Linked DNA regions of Homo sapiens: region 2 is linked to region 1. The links are contacts of gene promoters, found by promoter capture Hi-C in blood cells and fetal thymus (Javierre and others, 2016). All regions are on one chromosome and are shown on one strand. Each heading gives the region's core, a stretch centred on a gene start or on the middle of the fragment in contact. The rest is flanking DNA. Distances are from core to core; before and after follow the strand shown.

Region 1 (6,275 bases), core at 263-2,762:
GCCAGCTTTCCCCCCCCCCAACCCACCCAAAAATGGTGGGGGGGGGGGGATATGAGCTTTCTCTGCTCCCCGCACACTCCCCACCACCCTTCTTTGTCAACTCAAGGCATTTTCAGCCTATATCACGATATCAAATTAAGTTTGGACTAATCAGGAGAAAACCCCCATCTGCACACTTTCCGCTGTTTCAGTTCGCCTACTGCGGCTCCCTCACAAGCCTCGGATTCAGCTGCCTTTTCGTAACCGTCTCTTCCCTTTTTTTAGCCCCAAGATGGGGGAATAAAATGGGCGTTGAGGTTGCTGAGAGGCCCATCCCCACCACGGGTGACTGGCACTTGGGTGAGAGCTCCTTAGAACCCCTTTCTGAAGTCTCCAAGCCTCATAGCTCAGGTCCAGGGGCGCCTCCACTGGCGGTGCCCTGAGTCTGGAGGGGGCAGGGGGGCTTCTGACCAAGGCAGGGGCTTGAGCCTGCAGGAAGCTAACTGTCCATCAGAGCCCCACCAGCCTTCTCTTTCTGGCTGGATCCTATGTGAATTACCCCACAGGCCCTCACTGGCTCCAAATAATAAATTCTCACCAACATAAACAGGAGTTGATGTCTCTAGAAAGATTCTCAGAGTTTTCGTTCTTCCTCTCTCTCTCTTTCTCTCTGTCTTTCCCCCTCCGGTGCCACCTCCCTACATTTTACTTCTTTTTCTCCTTTTTCTATTGCATTTTTTATACATTTTCCCTTTTAGGCAAAAATGCTGGAAGAGTTTTCCCAACAGAGGGGTCCTGAGAAGGAGGCAGAAGGGAGCCAGGAGGCAAAGGAGAGCAGATGCGTGGCCCATTTGCCCACTCCAGCTCTGCCACTGTACCCTGAAGTCTTGCCCCTTTAGACCTAGTTGTTCCCCACATCCCTACTACATTCAAGACTCTCAGCCACACTCTACTTACTCAGGGGAACAGGTTTTATGAAATTTCTTTCTACTTTTGATTTTTTTTTAATTATTGGTGAAAAAAATACTAGTTTAGTGATGGGACTCACTCCATGGAGTGTCAAAACAGGATTTCCTGCAGGATTTCTAGGGACCCCCCTCCTGTGCTGGGAGGGAGTTCTTCCCTTGGAGAAATCAGGATGTAATTTTAGAAGGGGGCAGATATAAAACATGAAACCAGATTGAAAATACAGGGGTTTCTCTAGCCCTGGCTCTGGCCACAGCACAGCAAAGTTAGCTGGGGCTGAGAGATTTCCTGGTAGTACAGCTCTCCTTCCCTGAGTCCCAAGGCCCTGCTCAGGGACATGCACCCCTCCTTCACCACCAAACCAGTTCCCTTACATATATATATATATATATATATTTTTTAAAAGAAATCCAAGTCTTACTTTCAAAGCACACACTTAGTCTCAACTAGGGAATCAACAGAAGCAGAAGCGATTTTTTTCCCCCTTCCTGACATCTGGCTTGCGATTGGCTGGGAGGGGGTCAGCTGACTTTGTCATTTTGTCTGTCCTGGATTGGAGCCGTCCCTATAACCATCTAGTTCCGAGTACAAACTGGAGACAGAAATAAATATTAAAGAAATCATAGACCGACCAGGTAAAGGCAAAGGGATGAATTCCTACTTCACTAACCCTTCCTTATCCTGCCACCTCGCCGGGGGCCAGGACGTCCTCCCCAACGTCGCCCTCAATTCCACCGCCTATGATCCAGTGAGGCATTTCTCGACCTATGGAGCGGCCGTTGCCCAGAACCGGATCTACTCGACTCCCTTTTATTCGCCACAGGAGAATGTCGTGTTCAGTTCCAGCCGGGGGCCGTATGACTATGGATCTAATTCCTTTTACCAGGAGAAAGACATGCTCTCAAACTGCAGACAAAACACCTTAGGACATAACACACAGACCTCAATCGCTCAGGATTTTAGTTCTGAGCAGGGCAGGACTGCGCCCCAGGACCAGAAAGCCAGTATCCAGATTTACCCCTGGATGCAGCGAATGAATTCGCACAGTGGTGAGTTTTACAGCTCCGAGATATAAATTAAATAAACTGAACTGGCTTTATGACCGGCTTCCCTAGAAGAACGGGCGGAGAGAGTTTTTTATGGCCCCATAAAAACAATCACGCTCGTCTCCTCACCGAGACAGGGCCCCCTCTTCTGCCCCCTCAGCTCGCCTCTCGCTCGCTTGCAGGGGCCTGGCCCCCTTGGCCCCTGACGGATTGGAGGGCCCCAAGGCGGGCTGAGGGGGCAGGAACAGGGCAGGGGATGAGGGGAGGGAGCAGAAGATAGGGGAGCCCCCCAAAGTGGAGTCAGTCTGAGGAGAAGGGAGGGGGAGAGGAGAGGCAGATAAGTGGGGAGAAGTTTCCAAGGAACTAGGATGCTTGGGGAGATGGGGGAGCCCAGTCCTTGAGAAAGGGGGCCCTCATCCCCATTATCTGGGATTTTTCAAAAATCTGCTTTTAGACTTGCAGCTTTCTGTTTGCCTTTTGCCCCGCCCCCCCGCCCCCCCCCCCACCACACACCTTTCTTTGGGACACACAGGTCCCACCTTATAGGAGGTCTGAAGTTGGGGTCCTCGCTGTACCCCCAGTGGGGGTGGGGCAAGGCAAAAGGGAGAAGGCTAGAGCCCTAAGGAGGCTGTGAGCTGCTGGCCAGGTTGGGAGGGTCAGGACTTTGCTAGGCGAAACAGTCTGCAGAGGACGCTTTGCTGATTGCTTTTAGTGTGTTTTGTGCCCGGATCTTTAGGGGTCGGCTACGGAGCGGACCGGAGGCGCGGCCGCCAGATCTACTCGCGGTACCAGACCCTGGAACTGGAGAAGGAATTTCACTTCAATCGCTACCTAACGCGGCGCCGGCGCATCGAGATCGCCAACGCGCTTTGCCTGACCGAGCGACAGATCAAAATCTGGTTCCAGAACCGCCGGATGAAGTGGAAAAAAGAATCTAATCTCACATCCACTCTCTCGGGGGGCGGCGGAGGGGCCACCGCCGACAGCCTGGGCGGAAAAGAGGAAAAGCGGGAAGAGACAGAAGAGGAGAAGCAGAAAGAGTGACCAGGACTGTCCCTGCCACCCCTCTCTCCCTTTCTCCCTCGCTCCCCACCAACTCTCCCCTAATCACACACTCTGTATTTATCACTGGCACAATTGATGTGTTTTGATTCCCTAAAACAAAATTAGGGAGTCAAACGTGGACCTGAAAGTCAGCTCTGGACCCCCTCCCTCACCGCACAACTCTCTTTCACCACGCGCCTCCTCCTCCTCGCTCCCTTGCTAGCTCGTTCTCGGCTTGTCTACAGGCCCTTTTCCCCGTCCAGGCCTTGGGGGCTCGGACCCTGAACTCAGACTCTACAGATTGCCCTCCAAGTGAGGACTTGGCTCCCCCACTCCTTCGACGCCCCCACCCCCGCCCCCCGTGCAGAGAGCCGGCTCCTGGGCCTGCTGGGGCCTCTGCTCCAGGGCCTCAGGGCCCGGCCTGGCAGCCGGGGAGGGCCGGAGGCCCAAGGAGGGCGCGCCTTGGCCCCACACCAACCCCCAGGGCCTCCCCGCAGTCCCTGCCTAGCCCCTCTGCCCCAGCAAATGCCCAGCCCAGGCAAATTGTATTTAAAGAATCCTGGGGGTCATTATGGCATTTTACAAACTGTGACCGTTTCTGTGTGAAGATTTTTAGCTGTATTTGTGGTCTCTGTATTTATATTTATGTTTAGCACCGTCAGTGTTCCTATCCAATTTCAAAAAAGGAAAAAAAAGAGGGAAAATTACAAAAAGAGAGAAAAAAAGTGAATGACGTTTGTTTAGCCAGTAGGAGAAAATAAATAAATAAATAAATCCCTTCGTGTTACCCTCCTGTATAAATCCAACCTCTGGGTCCGTTCTCGAATATTTAATAAAACTGATATTATTTTTAAAACTTTATACCGGGAATTCTGTTAATTCGCTCGCCCGCCGGCCTCAGGGTGAGAGCTGGAGCAGGCTCCAAGCGCTCCCGCGCCTGCCGGCCCCCTGCAAGCCCCCAGCCCTCTGCACTCGCCTTCCCCGGAGCCCAGGCGCCCGGCCCCGGCCTTCTGTTCGTTCTCGCGATCGCACTGAGGGGCTGGGAGGCCTCTCTGGGCTCCCTGCGCGGAGCAACACACACACCCTGCGGGAAAAAGCCGCGTAGGATTTTGTTGCGGGGGGAGCTGGGATCAGTCGGTTTGGGCACCAACCCCACGCAGGCCTTTCTTCCTGCCTGTGGCAGCCGGTGTCCTCGGCGTCCGAACCCTGAGGCGCCCCGAAAGACCAGTAAAGAAGCACTATCCAGGCACCAGGGTCTCCTCCACCCACTCCCGGGAGTTGGAGGCGGGGGGCGCCGTGAGAGCAAGCCCCAGGCCCGCGCCAAGCTGGCTGTTGCGAAACGTAGCGGAGGCGGAGAGCGGAGGGAAAGAGAAGACCGCGGGACTGGAGCCCTGTCGGCAGGGATTGAGCGATTCAAGGACATCTCGAGAGAGAAAGCCTGGAAACTGAGCTCTCGCCTGCTCTGGTACTCCTGACGTGGCCGGGACAAAATTCCTTCTTCATTACAGCTCCAGCCGGGCTGGTTCCTTACTTTTCTCTCCTCAAACGGGTGAAGAGGCGGGTGAGGAGCGCAGCCGGACCCTAACCATTTATCAACCCTGGCCTTCTCTCTCCAAGCCTGGCCAGAGAAACCTGAGTGGGCCTACAGGGAGAGGTGTTGAGGAGGGTCTCCGGAGGGAAAAAATCCGCCAGAGTTTTCCGGGCCCTTCAGATTCCCTCCAGCGCCCCCACCCTCGCCTCCAGTGCCTCCACCAGTGAGGAGGGGGCCTTCTCCTGGCGGGGCGGAGATTTCCTGGGAAGAAGCAGGCAGGGAAGTATGAGACTTGGGGCTACGGGGGAAGAGGATGGGGCCGAATGGCTGCAGATACCCTGCGAAGGCTACCCAGGCGCCTGCCCTGCCCACCCCCCAGGTCCGCCCCATTCCTCTTGGTAGCTCAGAAATTGCTCTCTTGTGAACCTTATGGATTCAGGTCCCTGGAAAGCCTAGCCCAGAGACCTTTTCCCCAAAGGGCACATAACGGGCCTTTTCCTCTGCCATGCTCACGTAATATTTGTGGAGGCTTCAATCTTGCTTCTCCATGTCCTCAATTAACATCTATTTTCTGTCTAAAACCTCTGGCATAGGTACCACATAAGGATCGCACACAGGGAAACAGAGCAGTCCTCTAGACCATTGTCTGGCTCTGTCCGTGTCCACACACACACTTGAAAATTGCCTTGTTGCCACTCTGGGGACCCTAGCATGGTGAGGTCTAGCCAACTCCACCTGGCTCCTCACCTCCAGATCCATCCCAAACAGCCTGCAACACCCTCAGCTTCATGACCCCCCTATCTTGTTCTGACCACTCAGGATCCCTCCTCCTGGGCGTCCTGTCTACCTCTTCAGAAGCTAATTCTACTTTCTCTTGCTGATAGGCACCTCTTCAGCAGTAGTGGAGCCTTAGGGCCTGAGAGGCAAGGGACTTCTACCTTTGGTTTAGGGAACCTAAGTTAAACCCCATTGGTTCTCCAGCCTGGGCATAGGCCACCTTACCTAACTTAATCCCCTTTCCTCAGCCATTTTTGAAGATTGGAAGACCCTGGAGGTTGGGAGAACGGGACTTTCATTACAAAAAGCACTCTGTGCGTTATAAGTGGGGCCTCGTCTTTTCCCAATTTTAAATAGAATTTAAAAGGCTAGCTCAGGGGTTGCCCCAACAACCAGCTTCTCCTTCACAGTGTAGGAAATCCAGCCACCGGAAAGCAAGCTGGCGCTCCAGGATGCAATTCCCCCACATAGGCACCAGGTGTCGCTGTGGGCTTGTTGTCCCGGCTACCCCCAATTCCAAGAACCTTTTTTTTTTTTTCCCTCCCCCTTCCCTCTTTCTCTCTCTCACTCCCTCTCCCCCTTGGTTGGGCTTTGCCAACATATCGAGATGCTTTTCGCCGGCTTCCATCACTAACCTCCCGGAGGTCATCAAGCCAAATTTATGAGTGGCCGCTCGAGTCACGTGACTCTATTTAAGGCTCCCTTATTTGGGAAGAGCGCATAGGATAAAGAAAGAGATATCTCCACCTATAAATTGTCCACTTTGGAGAACAAAAAACCCCTCAACTTCAAAGAGTCACAAATCACCCTTAATCAAAAAGGGTGCAGAAATTTTTTTGGGCCCTCCCCGCCATGAGCTCCTACGTAGCCAATTCATTCTATAAGCAGAGCCCCAATATCCCTGCCTATAACATGCAAACTTGTGGGAACTA
Region 2 (6,488 bases), core at 558-3,057, 100 kb before region 1:
TGTTACATCATTTCTATACTTTTCTAAAGCGCTTCAGATGCAGCCCAATCAGAACATAAAAACACATGTGCAAGCAGCCTTACACACACACACACTTGCACACAAGGAGACATATATAGACATGTGCTGCCACACATTCCCTAGATCTTCCTTGCATACCCCTGCTATAGCTGGGCAGACATTATTGTCACTTCAAGCTGGAACAAGTGAAGCAGCCTGCTTTTTCTGTTTATGCTGTACAGCTGATGACAGATAACTGCATCATGCTCATCTGCTTAGACTTTACCTCTTTTCTAAAGGGCGGCCAGAACAAAAGCTTCTTCCTATCAGCATTTTTGTAAGAAACACCTTTTCCCAGAAATCCCTATTTGGTTCATACTGTCCTGCCAGATTTACAGTTCCTCGGTTTCCCAGCCTCTTCTCCCTGACTCCCTAATGTAGAATTTCTGCTCAGCCAGACGAGTGCCTTCTCTCCAGCAGCACATACCTTGTCCTCTCCAGGCTCTAAACTGCACAAGCCATTGCCCAAGTTGGGACACAAGTCTTTTCCTACTTCTCCCTTGGGGCCCTTTTCTGCTCTCCTCCCCAAGTGTCTCTCCCCTCTGAAGGAATGACTGTCTTGTCTGATTCATCTCGCTTCTGCTGCAGCTCCCGCTCCTCCTCCTCCCTGCATTGTGGTCCCTCATTTCTCTTGTCACTCAATCTTCTCACCTTTCTTTCTGCCTGGGTCCTGAGTATATGCTCCATCTCCCTGCACAGATAGGGTGTGGCTCCCCACATTCAGCAACTGGCTTTGTCTCTTGTTTCCTGGTGCTCCCCTCCCACAGCCCAGGCAATGCCTTGTTCCTGACAGAGTGTTGACTGACAGACTGGCTGGAGTTGAAGCTCAGCCTTAATACTTCTTCCATCTCTTTTCTTGATTAATTTGATGTGTTTGGCATCACCTCTGCTGCTGGAGGGGTATTTTCTAGGAGGCAGAAGAGTGTCGGAGGCCTTGCTCCTTTTCCTTCCCTTCCCAGATAGACTAGTATTTCAACCTGACAGCTCCCAGCTGGTCCTCTGGCTATGGAGCATTGAGTGTTTATTTTCCTGATGTTTTTATTCCAAAGTCTTTGCCAGGGTCATGTTGTTGAAATCCACCAAGTGACAGCAGCCCCTGACCCTGCTACTGAATCCGAACACATTTTACAGGTACAGCTGTTGTCAGAAAATTACAGAAGCCAAAGGCAAAAAAAAGAGGCCTTGAGAGGTCATCTTGGATATGCCCCTGTTTCCAGTCTAGTTTCTGCTCAGGTAAATTAGAAAAGACTAGTTTCAAAGTGCTACACAAGGGAAATGGATGTCTCACTCTTAAATCCCACTCCATTATCTAGCTATTCCCACCATCAGAGTGTTTCATTATAGGGACCCACAACCTCACCTTTGAATGCCAGGCCCTTTCCACTTCTGTTGTTGCCAGAAAGTTGATGATGATGAATATAACCCACTATATACTTGAAAAAGAAAATTAGATTAGAAATAATCCAGAGAAAGCGGTCATCCATGACCAAGTGGTCATCCATGATGGATAATTCAATCTTCAACACAATCTACATTCTTTCCAAAGACCAGAGTAATTTCCAGACTGACTTAACTGTTAACCATGAACATCCAAAATCCTCCCTGGCTCACAGTGGTAAGTAGGTTTCCAAGTCTGGATTAGTCTTACCCTTAGATTTAAATGTTTTTTATTTGCCCACATCCCACTCTATGGCTCTTCCCCCAGCCCAGGCTGAGAGAGTGCTGGTGCCACTCAATGGTGTCCACACATAATAAGGGTCTGTGTAATGCCAAGCAACCGGCTGTAAGCAAGAGAAAAATGTTATCTGGCTAATCCATCCACTTGTTAACATATATTTGGATATTTGGAAATAATCCAATGAAGGACTGAAGTTTTCCTTTGTCAGCATGTAGGCAGTCCTAAAATATCATAGTCAAGCAATGTCCATAGACAAAGTTAACTGCATCATTAACACTTCTTTTTTTCACTTGGCATGCTATATCTGACAGGCTTTCTCCCCACCTGGTGACCCAACGCTGGTCTGAGTGGCTTGGCATTCATTATAAAGAGAGATGCCAATGTCTCAAAAGTGCCAGAGAGGCTGGCAGACTGCCTAACTATAAGGCAGCTGCTGTGATTTCCATAAGAGAATAAGCAGAATGCAAAACAAAACTGCAAGAAGGAGGCTGCCCAGTTCTTGTTGTTGGCAGGGGCCAAAAAAGCAGGAACTCATTTCCTCATCTCCTGTGACTGGGTCTGGCCTACATATCCAGGGACTAGGAGGGAGAAATTTGGGTGAACCAATGCAAAAGAATGTATTCTCATCACCTCTGGAAAAAAATGCTTTTGTGCCAGCTGTTTTTCCAAGGGACCAACTGGAGCTATTACCATACAATCTAGTGAAATGAATGGTGGTTCTTTCCTTAGATCTGGAAATATATCAAACTGAACAATTCAGGAAATCTACGGTTTTGGTAGTGAGTTGCCAAAACTCTGCTTTATTTGGTGCTATGCAGTTTCAACTATAGTAGCCCTGATCTAGTTGGCTTATCTCTACAATTCAAACCATTAGAAAACTGTTTGAGCCAATCCTTCACTCTCTTCATCCCTTGAAACCCTAGTGAGCCTGAAACAACAGATAAGGGTCGGGCGGGGGGTGCGGGGGAAGAAGAGAAACACAAGGTTAAAAAATTACCCCTCGTTCCTTCTACACACATCTAGGCTAAAGCAAACTTGAGTGAGGGAAGGAAGAAAATATCACATTAAACCGAGCTCAGAGTCTTGAAGCTACATTGCACTGGACATTCTCCCTAAGATTTGAAATTGTGTATATGACTTGAAGTTGTTACAGGATTGTCTATTACCTAAGAGCAGGCAGAAGAGTCTGGGGCCCCCTGGAGTTTTAATCCAAGAGCCAAGAAGTGTTAGCTAACATCCATTGACATTGATAAAGGGTGACAGAACACAAAAATGAAATTGTATTTCGCCTTTTAAAGAGTAAAGGATGGACTGGGATATGATTGTAAATAAACCCCAAAACATATAGTCACTTAAATACAATAGAAACTTATTCCTTCCTCAGGTAAAGTCCTAGGCAGATGATTCTTGCCAGTGGGTGGCTGCCCTCTCCATGTGGTTCAGGGATCCAGGCTCTTCCTATCGCGTGTCTGAACTATTCCCTAGGGTGCCATGGTGGACATCCTCACAGAGGAAGAAGACAGAGAGCACGGAGGAGAATGGGAACACACCCACTTGTTAAAAGCTTTGGCCAGGAAACGGCACATGCATTCCATTAATTAGAACTAAGTCACACATCCATATGAAACTGCAAAAAATGCTGGGGGTGTAGTCCAGCTGCAGGCCCAGGATTTGGAGGGAGCAGTTGCTATATCTTTATAATGGTTGAAATTTTACTGGCTTCTGTGTCCAGTGGCAAATTTGGATATAGAAGATCCTCATGGGGTACCAGACGTTCAACCATCATAGGCAGCAATCTTATGAGAGTATTTCTTTCTCCAAAAGGAAGGTCATCACTCCCCAAAGGGACTTTTCTCTGAATGGTGCAGGTTGATGGATGGCGGGGAGAAAAAAAGGGACTGGGAGAGAAAAGGATTTCTGTGAAAGAGCAGAGCAAAGGTAGCCATGCTCAGCTGCCTCTTGAAGATAAGGAAGGCTCCTGTAGCTTGACTACTGAGACCTACTCGCAGGAGATTTGTTCCTTCCCCCAATGGAACTTCTCATCCCTTGTGTAATGAATATGCACCTGAAACTCCTAGGTCTCAGAGAGCCTGAAAGTGAACACGACCCTAAAATATCCGAGCTACTGAAAACAATCTGGTAAAATGTGCCACTGGACACAGAAGCCAGTAAAATCCATGAAGGCAGAAGAATTGCCTGGCCCTTCAACCCCAAATAAAATAAACATATTTCACATCTTATTAATTCCAAAACTGGATTCAATTTTTTAAAGTGCCGCATTCTGGTGAGATCAGAAGACACATCTGGCAAGAATGAGGTCATTACAAGAAGAGTTTGACTATTTCTAATAATCATTAAAAAACACCCGCCGCCCTTGGATTCTCACTCGGGGTGGGGAGCGAAGAGCTTTGCAGGACCCATCAAGGAAAGCAAAGATTCTGGCAACACAATTCCCCCTGTTAACTATATTCCCGGCCTCTAGGTCGCTATTTAAACTAAAAGGGCGTCTCCATTCTCCCCCAGAGGTACCGTTCTACAGCCACACTCACTACTTTATCCATGTCTGTGTGCAGTGAGCATTTTTCTGTTCTTCTAGTTTCACTGGAGTTTTATTTTATGCACCCTTCCCCTGCCCCATTTCTTGAGACCAGCTGGACCGCATGCTGGAAAAACAAAACAGGAGAGAGGGGAAGGTCCCTCAGATTCCAAAGCAGAACACAACCAAGGCTTCCTAAGTAAATGAAAAGGACTTGGAGAAGACATAACACTTCAGTGTAGACACTTAAGTTGAAATTTCTGCCCTGTCGTTCCAATGCCATGATGGAGAAGGACCCCTAAAATCGCCTTTGGCGTGTGCAGCTCGAGCGTTACAACGATGCAAAGTGCGGTCTTTGGAGGATGCGGGAGTCGGTAACCCCTCAATTCACTCTCGCCGTTCCTTCTCTCCAGTCTGCGCGAAAGCCAGGTCCGAGGGCTTCGAAGATCTGGGGGACCCGAGCTGCGCACAGTGGCGGGAAACGAGCGGGCTCAGCTGGCCGGGCCGCGTCCCCTAGCCACCGCCCGCCCGCCCGCTGCTTTGGCCTCCGGAGAAGCCTGGAGAGGGGCCTGCGCCTCTTGAAAAATGGCTTTTGGGGGCGGTAGGTCTCGGGAGGGCGACTGGGGAAAGTGACTTGCCGCGGCTTCGAGTAGAGACGTTGGTGCGGGACCCAACTCCTGGGGAAGGCGGGGAGCGCTGGGCGGATGCCTGGCCCTAGTGCGGCGCCAACACATACAAGTTCCGCTGTGAATGTTTGAAAGTGTAAGTTTCTCTCGGATTGATTTTTTTTTCCTTTAAATGTATCCCCTTCAAAAAAAAAAAAAAACAAACAAACAAAAAAAAAAAAAACAAAGACGTGGACAGGCAGGCGCCACCCGGTCTGGGAGCTGAGGTTCGTGACTGCTGCCGATTTCGTTTGGTTCAAGTTGAGAAAATAAGGGTCTCCCCGTCCCAGGCTGGGAGCGTGGGGACTTCCGTCTCTGGACTGTGCAAACCGTCTGGGGCTGCCTCCCAGACTGGCATGCTCTCCCCGCCCCCTGAAACCTAGGGAAGGTTTCCTGGAGGCACTGGACTCCAGATCCCTGCAGGGCGGGACGGAGAAAAAGCCCTGAATACCACTGCCCACACCCCTCCAAGTCGGGAGCCCCCACGCGCCAGTCGAGCCTACGCAGCTGTGGGGTGGGAAGGAGAAGACAAGTCCTCCGCCAAGAACTCCCCCACGCAGCTCCTGCCATTCCCTCCGCCTGATTTCTGCTGGAGGAGGTCGTCAGTTTGCAGGGGCAGAATACGAAGCCTCCGGGGAATTAGACAAGACAATATTCCTGAGCTCTTTGAACGGCCCAGGTAGAGAAGAAAATTAAACAATGTAACTCATCTCTCTGCAAGTAAAGATCTAGAGCGAGATTAAGACCCTCATCCCCGGCTTTTCCTCTGAAGCTCCCCCAGAATAAGCCCGCAGGTTAGAGCTGGCTAGGTCAGGGAGTGCAAGAAGAGGTGCCTTTCGACATGGAGAAAGAGTACTCTCCCCCACAGATTTTGATACTTGATGCTGAAGCTACCAAGTAAAGGTTGAAGAAATGTTGGAGAGGGAGGTGCGGCGGGTGGGGATGTTCCTTACTGTCCTAGGTATTTGTAACCAAGGTAGATTTTGAAGTTATTACAAACATGTTCCCTGTTCAAATAGCATGGACCCCATTCTCCAGGCTCCACTGTGTGAGGCGGGTTTACAGCCTCAAGGTTCTCCCTGAGGTTGGGGATAGGGAATAACGCTAATCCTGCATTATAAAAAATAAAATAAAATAAAATAAAAATCCTGAAAGCTTAATTATCGAATAATTCAGATAAGTCCTCCTCCCGTCACTCACCTTTCGATTATTTGAATAATTCAGGAAAATGCAAATTCTGATTGTTTGTGGAGACTCATCATCGCTGGACAGTAAAAAGAGAGAGAAACAAGGAAAATCTAATAGAGAACAGCGCTCCAAGATGGTGAAATGGGTCTTCTGTGCATTTTTCCTTGTGTAGAAAGATAGAGTTGCCTTCCTGGGCATTATTTCCTGGAAGATATTGTATCTGTTGTGATAAAATGTAGAGTTAGATCAAGTCACCAAAATGCATATATGTGTGTGTGTATATATGTGTGTATATACATGAGAGAGAGAGAAGAGGGAACAAACATGGGTTTCTACTTGTGTCTATGAAAAATTTTATTTC

Evidence for each region. Contacts are between HindIII fragments. The CHiCAGO score rates a contact against its expected background, and 5 or more counts as called.
Region 2: a contact is called between a fragment that was not itself captured here and the fragment with the promoter of HOXC6 in region 1, in 2 of 17 cell types (naive B cells and total B cells). The highest score is 7.7, in naive B cells.

Annotation. Positions count from the first base shown.
Region 1 is chr12:54,026,928-54,033,202 of GRCh38, forward strand. It overlaps HOXC6 (homeobox C6), which reads left to right and starts at 1,513. Exons shown (of 2, transcript NM_004503.4): 1 at 1,513-1,994; 2 at 2,728-3,896. The coding sequence starts at 1,595. The coding sequence ends at 3,035. HOXC5 (homeobox C5) reads left to right here and starts at 6,123. Exons shown (of 2, transcript NM_018953.4): 1 at 6,123-6,275. The coding sequence starts at 6,196. It also overlaps a transcript of HOXC4 not described here. RefSeq lists enhancers at 5,638-5,932, 5,927-6,275. The HindIII fragment of the contact is 15,214 bases long and covers 1-6,275 here.
Region 2 is chr12:53,922,939-53,929,426 of GRCh38, forward strand. No RefSeq gene overlaps it. Among named protein-coding and RNA genes, the nearest start is that of HOXC13, 13 kb to the right of the region's middle. RefSeq lists an enhancer at 5,065-5,902. The HindIII fragment of the contact is 2,986 bases long and covers 315-3,300 here.